3 separate regions of the Homo sapiens genome follow, and regions 1 and 2 are each linked to region 3. Evidence: promoter capture Hi-C in human tissues and cell types (Jung and others, 2019). All regions are on one chromosome and are shown on one strand. Each heading gives the region's core, a stretch centred on a gene start or on the middle of the fragment in contact. The rest is flanking DNA. Distances are from core to core; before and after follow the strand shown. Region 1 holds the start of SERPINF2 (serpin family F member 2). Region 2 overlaps PITPNA (phosphatidylinositol transfer protein alpha). Region 3 holds the start of OVCA2 (OVCA2 serine hydrolase domain containing).

What was found. Contacts are between HindIII fragments. The study calls those that stand out against the background at their distance.
Region 1: the fragment with the promoter of SERPINF2 here is called in contact with the fragment with the promoter of OVCA2 in region 3 in 1 of the 25 tissues and cell types used here (dorsolateral prefrontal cortex).
Region 2: a contact is called between a fragment that was not itself captured here and the fragment with the promoter of OVCA2 in region 3, in 6 of the 25 tissues and cell types used here (aorta, dorsolateral prefrontal cortex, hippocampus and 3 more).

What each region holds. Positions count from the first base shown.
Region 1 is chr17:1,741,036-1,744,254 of GRCh38, reverse strand. It overlaps SERPINF2 (serpin family F member 2), which reads right to left and starts at 1,384. Exons shown (of 10, transcript NM_000934.4): 1 at 1,347-1,384. The HindIII fragment of the contact is 23,738 bases long and covers 1-3,219 here.
Region 2 is chr17:1,554,656-1,557,469 of GRCh38, reverse strand. All of the region lies in intron 2 of PITPNA (phosphatidylinositol transfer protein alpha), which reads left to right. Among named protein-coding and RNA genes, the nearest start is that of PITPNA, 6.7 kb to the left of the region's middle. RefSeq lists a silencer at 968-1,168 and an enhancer at 1,585-1,654. The HindIII fragment of the contact is 8,751 bases long and covers 1-2,814 here.
Region 3 is chr17:2,040,772-2,043,767 of GRCh38, reverse strand. OVCA2 (OVCA2 serine hydrolase domain containing) reads right to left here and starts at 1,746. Exons shown (of 2, transcript NM_080822.3): 1 at 1,537-1,746; 2 at 343-1,163. The coding sequence starts at 1,720. The coding sequence ends at 664. It overlaps DPH1 (diphthamide biosynthesis 1), which reads right to left. Exons shown (of 13, transcript NM_001383.6): 10 at 2,587-2,665; 11 at 2,147-2,287; 12 at 1,893-2,000; 13 at 1-1,163. The coding sequence ends at 1,911. RefSeq lists silencers at 1,444-1,643, 2,154-2,243 and an enhancer at 1,834-1,893. The HindIII fragment of the contact is 24,727 bases long and covers 1-2,996 here.

The sequences.
Region 1 (3,219 bases), core at 135-2,634, 300 kb after region 3:
TCCCAAAGTACTGGGATTACAGGCATGAGCCACTGCACCCGGCAAAAGACCATCTTTGTGGCCAGGCACGGTGGCTCAAGCCTGTAATCCCAGCACTTTGGGAGGCCAGGGGCAGGTGGATCACCTGAGGTCGGGAGTTCAAGACCAGCCTGGCCAACATGGTAAAACCCCATCTCTACTGAAAATACAAAATTAGCCAGGCGTGGTGGTGGGCCCCTGTAATCCCAGCTACTCGGGAGGCTGAGGCAGAGAACTGCTTGAACCCGGGAGGCGGAGGTTGCAGTGAGCCGAGATCACGCCACTGCACTCCAGCCTGGGCGACAGAGCAAGACTCTGTCTCAAAAAAATAAATAAGACCATCTTTGTAAACCCTGAGTACAATGCTTGGCACTCCCCCGATGGCTGGGGTCAGCTTGGCTCAAGGCCACCTCTTCTGGGAAGCCTGCCCTGAAGCCTCCACCGCAGAGCTCCAACACAGAGCTCCTACCCAGCCTGCTGCATCCATTTAGCCTGTCTTTTTTTTTTTTTTTTTTTTTTTTGAGATGGAGTTTCATTCTTATCATGCAGGCTGGAGTGCAATGGCACGATCTCGGCTCACTGCAACCTCCACCTCCTGGGTTAAAGCGATTCTCCTGCCTCAGCCTCCCGAGTAGCTGGGATTACAGGCATGTGCCACCATGCCTGGCTAATTTTGTATTTTTAGTAGAGACAGGGTTTCTCCATGTTGGTCAGGCTGGTCTCGAACTCCTGACCTCAGGTGATCCACCTGCCTCAGCCTCCCAAAGTGCTGGGATGACAGGCATGAGCCACCACGCCTGGCCCCAACCCGTCTTTCTCAGGCTGGTCAGGTCTTGCCCACAAGGCTGGACATACCTGTGAGGCCCTGAGGTCTCACCATGGGTGGCAAGGCAGCCAGAGAGCTGCCTTTTGACCCAGCAGCAGAGCCCAGTGAATGACTCTGGCCAGAGCCACCTCTGCACTTAGGAGCATCACAGGCCTCTGCTCCAGGCTGGCTCTGGGAAGGGCAGGTGTTGGTCTCAGGAGGATAAGTCAGAGCAGGTCTCAGCTACCTCCAGCCCACCCCCATCTTGGGGCCAACCCTTCTGGAGGATCCTTTGGTCCCCCCGGCCCCACCCCCATCCCACACAAGAGCCCTTGGCCAGGGCCCCGACTCCGACCTGGGCATTAGAATCTTCTTGCCAAGAACAGGCTCCAGTTTTTCAAGTCCCAGAAGAGGCTGGGGAGTGACAGGCCTCCTGAATAAATCCCAGACCCCTCAGCCAGGGAGGCAGCTCCCTCCTCCTCTCCTACCCAAGGAGCAGGCCGAGCAGCCCCTCCCCTCATACCTCTGCGGGCTCCTTGCTGCCACACACAACGTTCCTCTGGCCCCACTTGGGTGCTCCTCACTCTCTGCCCAGGCTCCAGCTGGCCCAGCCCACCCCTCCCCTCCCACCAGGACCTTTACTCTCAGCCAACCCCTGTTCAGATTGCTTTCTCTTCTGGTAAATATTGACTTGCACATCCAGTTAAACATTGATCTTGAAGCCAGAAGCCCCTTTCCCACCAGGGCATCTAACCCTGAGGCAGCCACGCAGAACCCCCTATATTTGGGTCCCCCCCCCCGAGCCTGGAAAGAGAAAGTTCAGGAGGAGAGAGTTGAAGAGACTGGATCTGGCTAGCCAAGAGGGCGGATCCAGAAAGCACAGGAACCTAGCACTGTGTTAAGCCTTCCAGAGACCCCACGAGGTGTGGATTATCCCTGGTTCAGCCAGGCTCAGAGAGGCCATGTGACCTGCCCAAGGACACAGAGCTGGGCTGAGGCACATCCAGATTCTCACTCCCAATGTCCTTTCTTCTCCCAGAGAGCTGCCTCCCGCTCCTGAGGGGAGGAAAGGGGAAGCCACAAGAGCCTATGCAGAGAGCCCAGGATAGGAAGCCCACCCCCAACCTTCCAAGCCCAGGATCAGGTTGGCTGCCTTCAGACTGGGATGGAAGGCAGGGGGTGAGGGAGGAGAAATGAGAGGGACTCAACTTCTCCCACCGTCCTGCCACTCCAGAGCAATGTCTCTTTCCCCTACCCAAGAGCGAGGGTTCTGGAAACTGACCTGGGGCTGTATGAACCAGAAGCCTGGCAGCCCGTGCAAAGATCAGGCTGCTTCCCACCCTCACTGTCCGGCTCCTCACTCCCTGCATCAGGCTCCTTCCCACCCTCACTGTCCTGCTCCTCACTCCCTGTATCAGGCCCCTTCCCACCCTCACTGTCCTGCTCCTCACTCCCTGCATCAGGCCGCTTCCCGCCCTCACACCTGCTCCTCACTCCCTGCATCAGGCTCCTTCCCACCCTCACTGTCCGGCTCCTCACTCCCTGCATCAGGCTCCTTCCCACCCTCACTGTCCGGCTCCTCACTCCCTGCATCAGGCTCCTTCCCACCCTCACTGTCCTGCGCCTCACTCCCTGCATCGGGCCACTTCCCACCCTCACTGTCCTGCTCCTCACTCCCTGCATCAGGCCGCCTCCCACCCTCACTGTCCGGCTCCTCACTCCCTGCATCAGGCCGCCTCCCACCCTCACTGTCCTGCTCCTCACTCCCTGCATCAGGCTCCTTCCCACCCTCACTGTCCTGCGCCTCACTCCCTGCATCAGGCCACTTCCCACCCTCACTGTCCTGCTCCTCACTCCCTGCATCAGGCTCCTTCCCATCCTCACTGTCCAGCTCCTCACTCCCTGCATCAGGCTCCTTCCCACCCTCACTGTCCGGCTCCTCACTCCCTGCATCAGGCTCCTTCCCACCTTCACTGTCCTGCTCCTCACTCCCTGCATCAGGCTCCTTCCCACCCTCACTGTCCTGCGCCTCACTCCCTGCATCAGGCTCCTTCCCACCCTCACTGTCTTGCGCCTCACTCCCTGCATCAGGCCCCTTCCCACCTTCACTGTCCTGCGCCTCACTCCCTGCATCAGGCTCCTTCCCACCCTCACTGTCCGGCTCCTCACTCCCTGCATCAGGCCCCTTCCCACCCTCACTGTCCTGCGCCTCACTCCCTGCATCAGGCCCCTTCCCACCCTCACTGTCCTGCGCCTCACTCCCTGCATCAGGCTCCTTCCCACCCTCAGTGTCCGGCTCCTCACTCCCTGCATCAGGCCCCTTCCCACCCTCACTGTCCTGCGCCTCACTCCCTGCATCAGGCCCCTTCCCACCCTCACTGTCCTGCGCCTCACTC
Region 2 (2,814 bases), core at 3-2,502, 490 kb after region 3:
GGTTCGTCAGCCAGTATAGTGCCTCCAGTCACTGGGCTCCGTCTCTCTTTCCTGCAGTGTCAGCATGAAGCTCCTGTGATAACTTCCACTCTGTTCCCAATATGAACTGCACCTTTGAAAAATGAAATCAGGCCAGCAGAGCCTGCAGCACATTTAGTTGAGACAGACATCCAGGCTTGTTGGCCCCCGAGAGGGGTGGGCAGACACTGGCCCTTTAGAGGACTGCCTCCAGGGGTGGGCTACATATCTGATAAGAGCTGTGGGGACCTGGGGAGGGGGCCAGAGGTGGGCCTTGACCGTGATCTTGGGGTTCTGGGAAGGGCAGAAAAGAGAAACGAGACTGGGGAACCTGGGAACCAGGGAGAATGAGGGAATGGCTGGGTAGATGGCTCTAATCCCTGTAGGCACTGGGGATGTACCTGGGGCCTGAGAACCAGGTGCCTGGGCTGACAGGTGTTGGCTTGGAAGGGTCTTGTTAACCCACCTGCTTTGGCCATGCTGTCTTTATTTTTTTTATTTTATAATATTTATTTTAAATAGTGGAGATAGGGTCTCACTCTGTTGTCCACGCTGGTCTTGCCTCAAGTAGTCCTCCTGCCTCAGCCTCCCAGAGTGCTGGGATTACAGATGTCAACCACTTCACCCAGCCTGTGCTGTCTTTATTGAAAATAGCAAGCGATGATTTTCCAAACCAGAAGGCCAAGCAGGAAAGCCCAGCGCGTCCCTTGCCCTCAAACTCAGCTCTTGGGGAGGTGTCCAGTGACGTCCTCTCTGCTGTACAGGATGATCCCACCCCGATCGTTAGGAAGATGTGCCCCAGGAACTCGGGATTTCCTTAGTGTGGTGATTAGGGGTGAAATGGATCCTTTGATAGGGAGTTTCTTGATGGAACGAAGGGCGAGAGTGTCTCTGAGAAGTGCTGCAGACCAAGGAGGGCCAGCCTGTCCTGGAGCACCTGGGGCTGTTCTTGGAGTAAGGCTGAAGGGCCAGACACTGATGGCTTATGGTGGGGCCAAGACTGGAAGGAAAGGGGAACTTCCACCTTGAGAGCATCCACAGTTGGCGGGTGTTCACTTGTGATGGTTTTTCTGCAGCATTGAGGAAGTGGTGGGGCGGAGTTGAGTAATCAGAGCCTGAAGTCTAAGCAGAAGCTTGGGAAGTGAGTGCTGATCAGGATTCACCTGTCTGCCTGGCAGTGGTCAGCCCGTTCTCAGCAAGAAACCATTGACAAGAAAGTACCACGTGGCCTGGGTAGGGTCGAAGCGGAACTTAGTTTCAGAGAATTAGAAAAATCTTGGAGGGGAAGGCCGAAGAAGAAACAATTCATGATCAACCTTCTCAGAGTCTTTGTCAGTAACCCCATCCCCATCCTGACTTAACAGTTTCTATGGGAACAGCTCAGCATCTTGTGACTGGTGGATTCACTTCCTAAATTGGAGGCCATGACTTGAGGCCTTTGCAGTTTTCTGATTTAGGGGAAAGTGAAGAAAGGGAAAGAGAAGGTCATGCCTTTGTAATCATTCCGATGGCCTGCATCAATATTTTGGGGGCAGAATTAGCTTCTGGGTGGCCAGAGCCTTTGGTCTAACCCTGAGTGTCTGGGCGTTGTGCAGCAGAGCGAGAAAGCCCTGGCTGTTTGACGGGGTGTGTCCACCAGTGCTTCCTGGCACAGGTCGGCCGGGCTGCTTCACTTCTTGTTTCCAGAGATTCACGGCACCAGTCCCCCTCTGGTACCCAGCCTGACAGGGCCATGTTGGTGGGACCAAAGCTGTACTGTTGTTTATGACGTGTTTCATGTCAGTATTTCAGGCCCACCCACTGGGCTCCCCCTCCCAGATTGCCAAAGTTGTGGAGTCTGTTTTTCTTAGTTGAATGTCTTAGTTCTCTGGGATAGGTGAACAGATCTCAAGAGCAAGGAACATCATCGCAGGTCTGAGGAGGCTAGATTCCCAGTCCTGTTGGAGTTTTTTAAATCTGATTTAATGATCTGACCCTCCCACTCCTATCTCTGCCCCATCCGAGTCTGGCTGCTTTCCCAGGGGGCAGAGCAGCTGTGCCAAAAGGAACTCTAACGTGAAAAGCGCCCTTCACTTGTAGCTTGTGCAGGCCAGTCTTGCTTACCCCTTTAGATTAACAAAACTGCCTTCACTTGTCTCATTGGGATTAAAGGATCAGAATATCAAGAGAGATTGAAGGGGGAAGATGCCAGCCAACAGGCTGATCCTCTTAGAACCTGCCCTCTGATTCCTGCAGCTGAAGAGAAACCAAATGAAGGCGATTAGTCTCTGCCTGGGGTCCCCCTTCCCAAGTGGTACCACTAGCTGGGAACCTCGCCCCCTCCACCAGGCCCTCTCCCCAGCCTGTCCTTTAGGATTGCTGAGTCAGTGGTTAGATGTTCTTACGGCTCTTCTCTGAAACGGAGTTACTGCTCCTTCTTAGGCACCCCTGGCTCAGCCAAGCCCTGACCCACCTGACGGGTTTTCATGTGTGCCTAGCTGGGTGGTGGACTTGGAGAGGCACAGGGACAGCTTGGGGCTCCAGGGGGGCATTGAGGCAGCACTGATGCAGCTTAGGATTAGCAAGGTCAAGGTGACTGGCTTTCACCCATATGTTCCTCTGTATGGATTTCACTGAGCCTCGATTGCTGCCCCTTTTCATGGCATTTTGTTCTGGGATTTTGCTTTGAAAGTTAGGGCTCTTTCAGCCTTGTGGTGAGCAGTGAATTGTCCTCGTCCTCTGCTTCACTTTCCAGATTTTGCCCAGAAATTTCCCTGCAGTGCTTAGGAAGCTGCCTGGTAGAGCAGGTTTCTAAGT
Region 3 (2,996 bases), core at 497-2,996:
CCAGGGTTTGAGAGAAGACCAGCACACAACTCTCAGTGATCTGGATAGAGGAAGACTAAATTACTGTGGTTCAGGCAGCCTTGCCAGGTGATGTCTTCCCAAAACTTCTCAGATGTATATTCCTCCCTGATTGTGCCACCTAGGCCTCCTTCCCTTCAGTTTGGGACTTAAAACTTCCACCAATAACGTGAGTATGTGCACCCATGCAGCAGCCTGTCCGAGGACTCACAACTGGAGACACCTCCCTGCTTGGCGCTGCCCAGAAAACTATGTAGATGGCCAAGAAACCGACTTCCATTATAAAATGTTTTTCTGTGTGTACCAGGAAAAAGATGCTCAAAATCCAAATCACCACTTTATTATGTGGCAGTCACCATGGTGCCAGCCTCTGCCTTCCCCATGTCACCCTCCTAATCCAGGGCTCTCCAACCATATTCATGTTTGCGTTTTCACAAGTCAATGTCCATTAAGGCCTTGTGCTCCCCTTTTCTTCAGTACAGGGCAGGGCCCTTATAATTTGGGTCTCAAGAATTGATAGTTGTCTCTTAACTGGTTCTGGTGAGGCGCACTCACAGCAGTGAGTGGAGGGTCCTGGGAGGGCATGGATGACGGAGGCTGCCCCTAGAGGAGCTGGATGTAGGAGCAGAGACATTTCTTGATCTTTCACTCTGCAAACTGGTCCAAGAACTTGAGGTAGGCCTGACGCTGGGGTGCAGCTGCTGGAATGAAGTGGCCACCAGAGTGGGTGAGGGTGATGGCTCCGGGAAATTGGCTGGCCAGTTGCACACTCTCCTGAGAGGGGATGACTTTGTCAGTGTCCCCAAAAACATGGAGCGAAGGCAATGACAAGGGCCTTTGCAGGATGGATTCCTTGAACCCAATGCCCCGGGGACAGAAACCAGACACCAAGAGGATAAACCGTGGCAAGGGGAAGCGGGGATCGCCTGCCTGGCCCAGGGCACACACAAGGGCTGCTAGCGCAGCCCCTTGGCTGAAACCAAGAAGGCCGTCAAAAGGCCCCAGCCTGTTCAGTGCCTGTGCCACCATCCCCAGTGATTCCTCCAGGCCCCTGCAGACGGCGGGCTCTTCCAATGCGGAGAAAACGTCGGCCTCCTGCTCTGAAAACCACCAGCCTCGAGGCTGCTCCTCCGGAGGGCAGGACCCTACAGCGATATGAGGAAAAAGGATGGGATTAGGGCATGGGAGGCTCCAGGAAGGAAAGAAATGAGAAAGGGCAGGAGGGTTCGAGATGACAGAGAGAAAAAGGGAATCGAGGCAAAAGTCTGGGGGAAATGAGAGGGGGGAAATGAGTGGATTGGCCTGAACAGGAGACAGCGGAGGAAGACGGTGAAGGCGGAAGCCTGGGAGGACAGGCTGCAGTTTGAGCAAAGAGGGTATGGGTCGCGAGAAATGAAGGGTGTGGACTGGGTGGGAGGAATGCGGGTGGACGCAGGGTGGGGGATGCTGAAGGGTGTCGAGGGGGACGAAACAAGATGGAGGAAACTGAGTGCGTTTCCGGAGCGGGGCTTGTCTCACCGAAGTCTGATCTGGCGCCCTCGGGGCCCGGGGGGTCGGGGACCGGGTGCGGGCCGCTGAGGCACACGAGCTCGGCGCGACCCCGCAGCGCCTTCCTCAGCGCCCCGGTCTTCTCACGGAAGCCCCGCTCGCTCTGCCGGAAGCCCGCCAGGCACAGGACCCGCAGGGGTCGCTGCGCGGCCATTATGCCCGGCAAGGAGCGACGGAAGCACCGGAAGCGGTCTTTCCCCGAGCGGAAGCACAATGCACGGGGCGGAACCGAACGTCAGCACCGCCCCGAGGGCGGGCCTCGGAGCGCCAAGGCGTTCCCATGACAACGGCAAAAGGCGGGGCGCACCCAGAGCGGGGGCTGATACCTGAGGCCCGGGAGCGCGTCAAGGAGCCAGCGGCGCCACCTTCTCGTCCCTGCAGCTGCAGTCCTCGCAAGCCACGGCCGAAGGGGGACGCGCGGACCCCTCCTGCACCTGAGGTCGCAGACTTTGGTTAGGGTCTCGCTCCTGCGACCCTGCGTTTCCCTCCGCTCCGCTCCTGTGCGTTTCCCGTCGCGGTCGCAGGGCGGCGGCCAGTGCCCAGGCGCGGTCTCTCCTCCCTCCTGGAAGCCCCCGCCTACCTTCCCCCGCGCGGGCCGGCCCGGGGCGTGGGGACGGCGGTCCTGGCCGTGGTTCACCGTCCAGGGCCCCAAGGAGCTGCCAGCGTAGAAGTCCATCGGGTAGGGCTGCTGCCAGGAAATGTCCCTCAGAGCCACGGCCGCCTAGGGGAGGGGAGGGAGGGACAATAACATCTGCCAGTGTTTTTCTGCCCCTGGATTACTGAATTCAGTCCTCACGACGGCCTGTGAAGGGCACACTGTCCCCTGCCACAGAAGGGAACTGTGTGGTTCAGGGCCTTGCCTAAGGCTACACAGCTAGGAAGTGACTCCGCTGGAGAAATCGAGACAGACTCCGGAATCTACGAACATAACGAAGTGCTGCCCACCCACCCCACTCCACTCCAGACCTCACCTTTGAGAACCACGTCCAAAGCCCACTCTCTCCCAGAGCTTGGTGTTACCTCATAGGGTGTCAGCAGCGGCTTGGGGAAGGCTGTGCCCCAGTCAATGGAGAGACGTGGACATGCCACCTGCACCCACCTGGGAAGGGAAGCCAGGTCAGACCCTAGGAAGGGCCTCCTCGTCGCCCAGGCAGCATGCTGAAGAACATGACAGTGCCCCCAGCACACCCATTCATTAACAGGCTTTATGAATCCTAAAGTAAAGACAGTGACCCACTGCTGTTTGGAATACTGTATTGTTGCGTGTTTTCTCCTGTTTCCTCTGCCGACAATGAGCTTTCCAGGGCAGCTCACTGGTGATAGTATCCCCAGAACCACATTTAGTACCTGGTACAGGGCAGGTGTCAGCCACCGCTCAAACTCATCTCACAAGGACAAATGTGATGTTGCCATTGCCTCTGAGCCCCAAA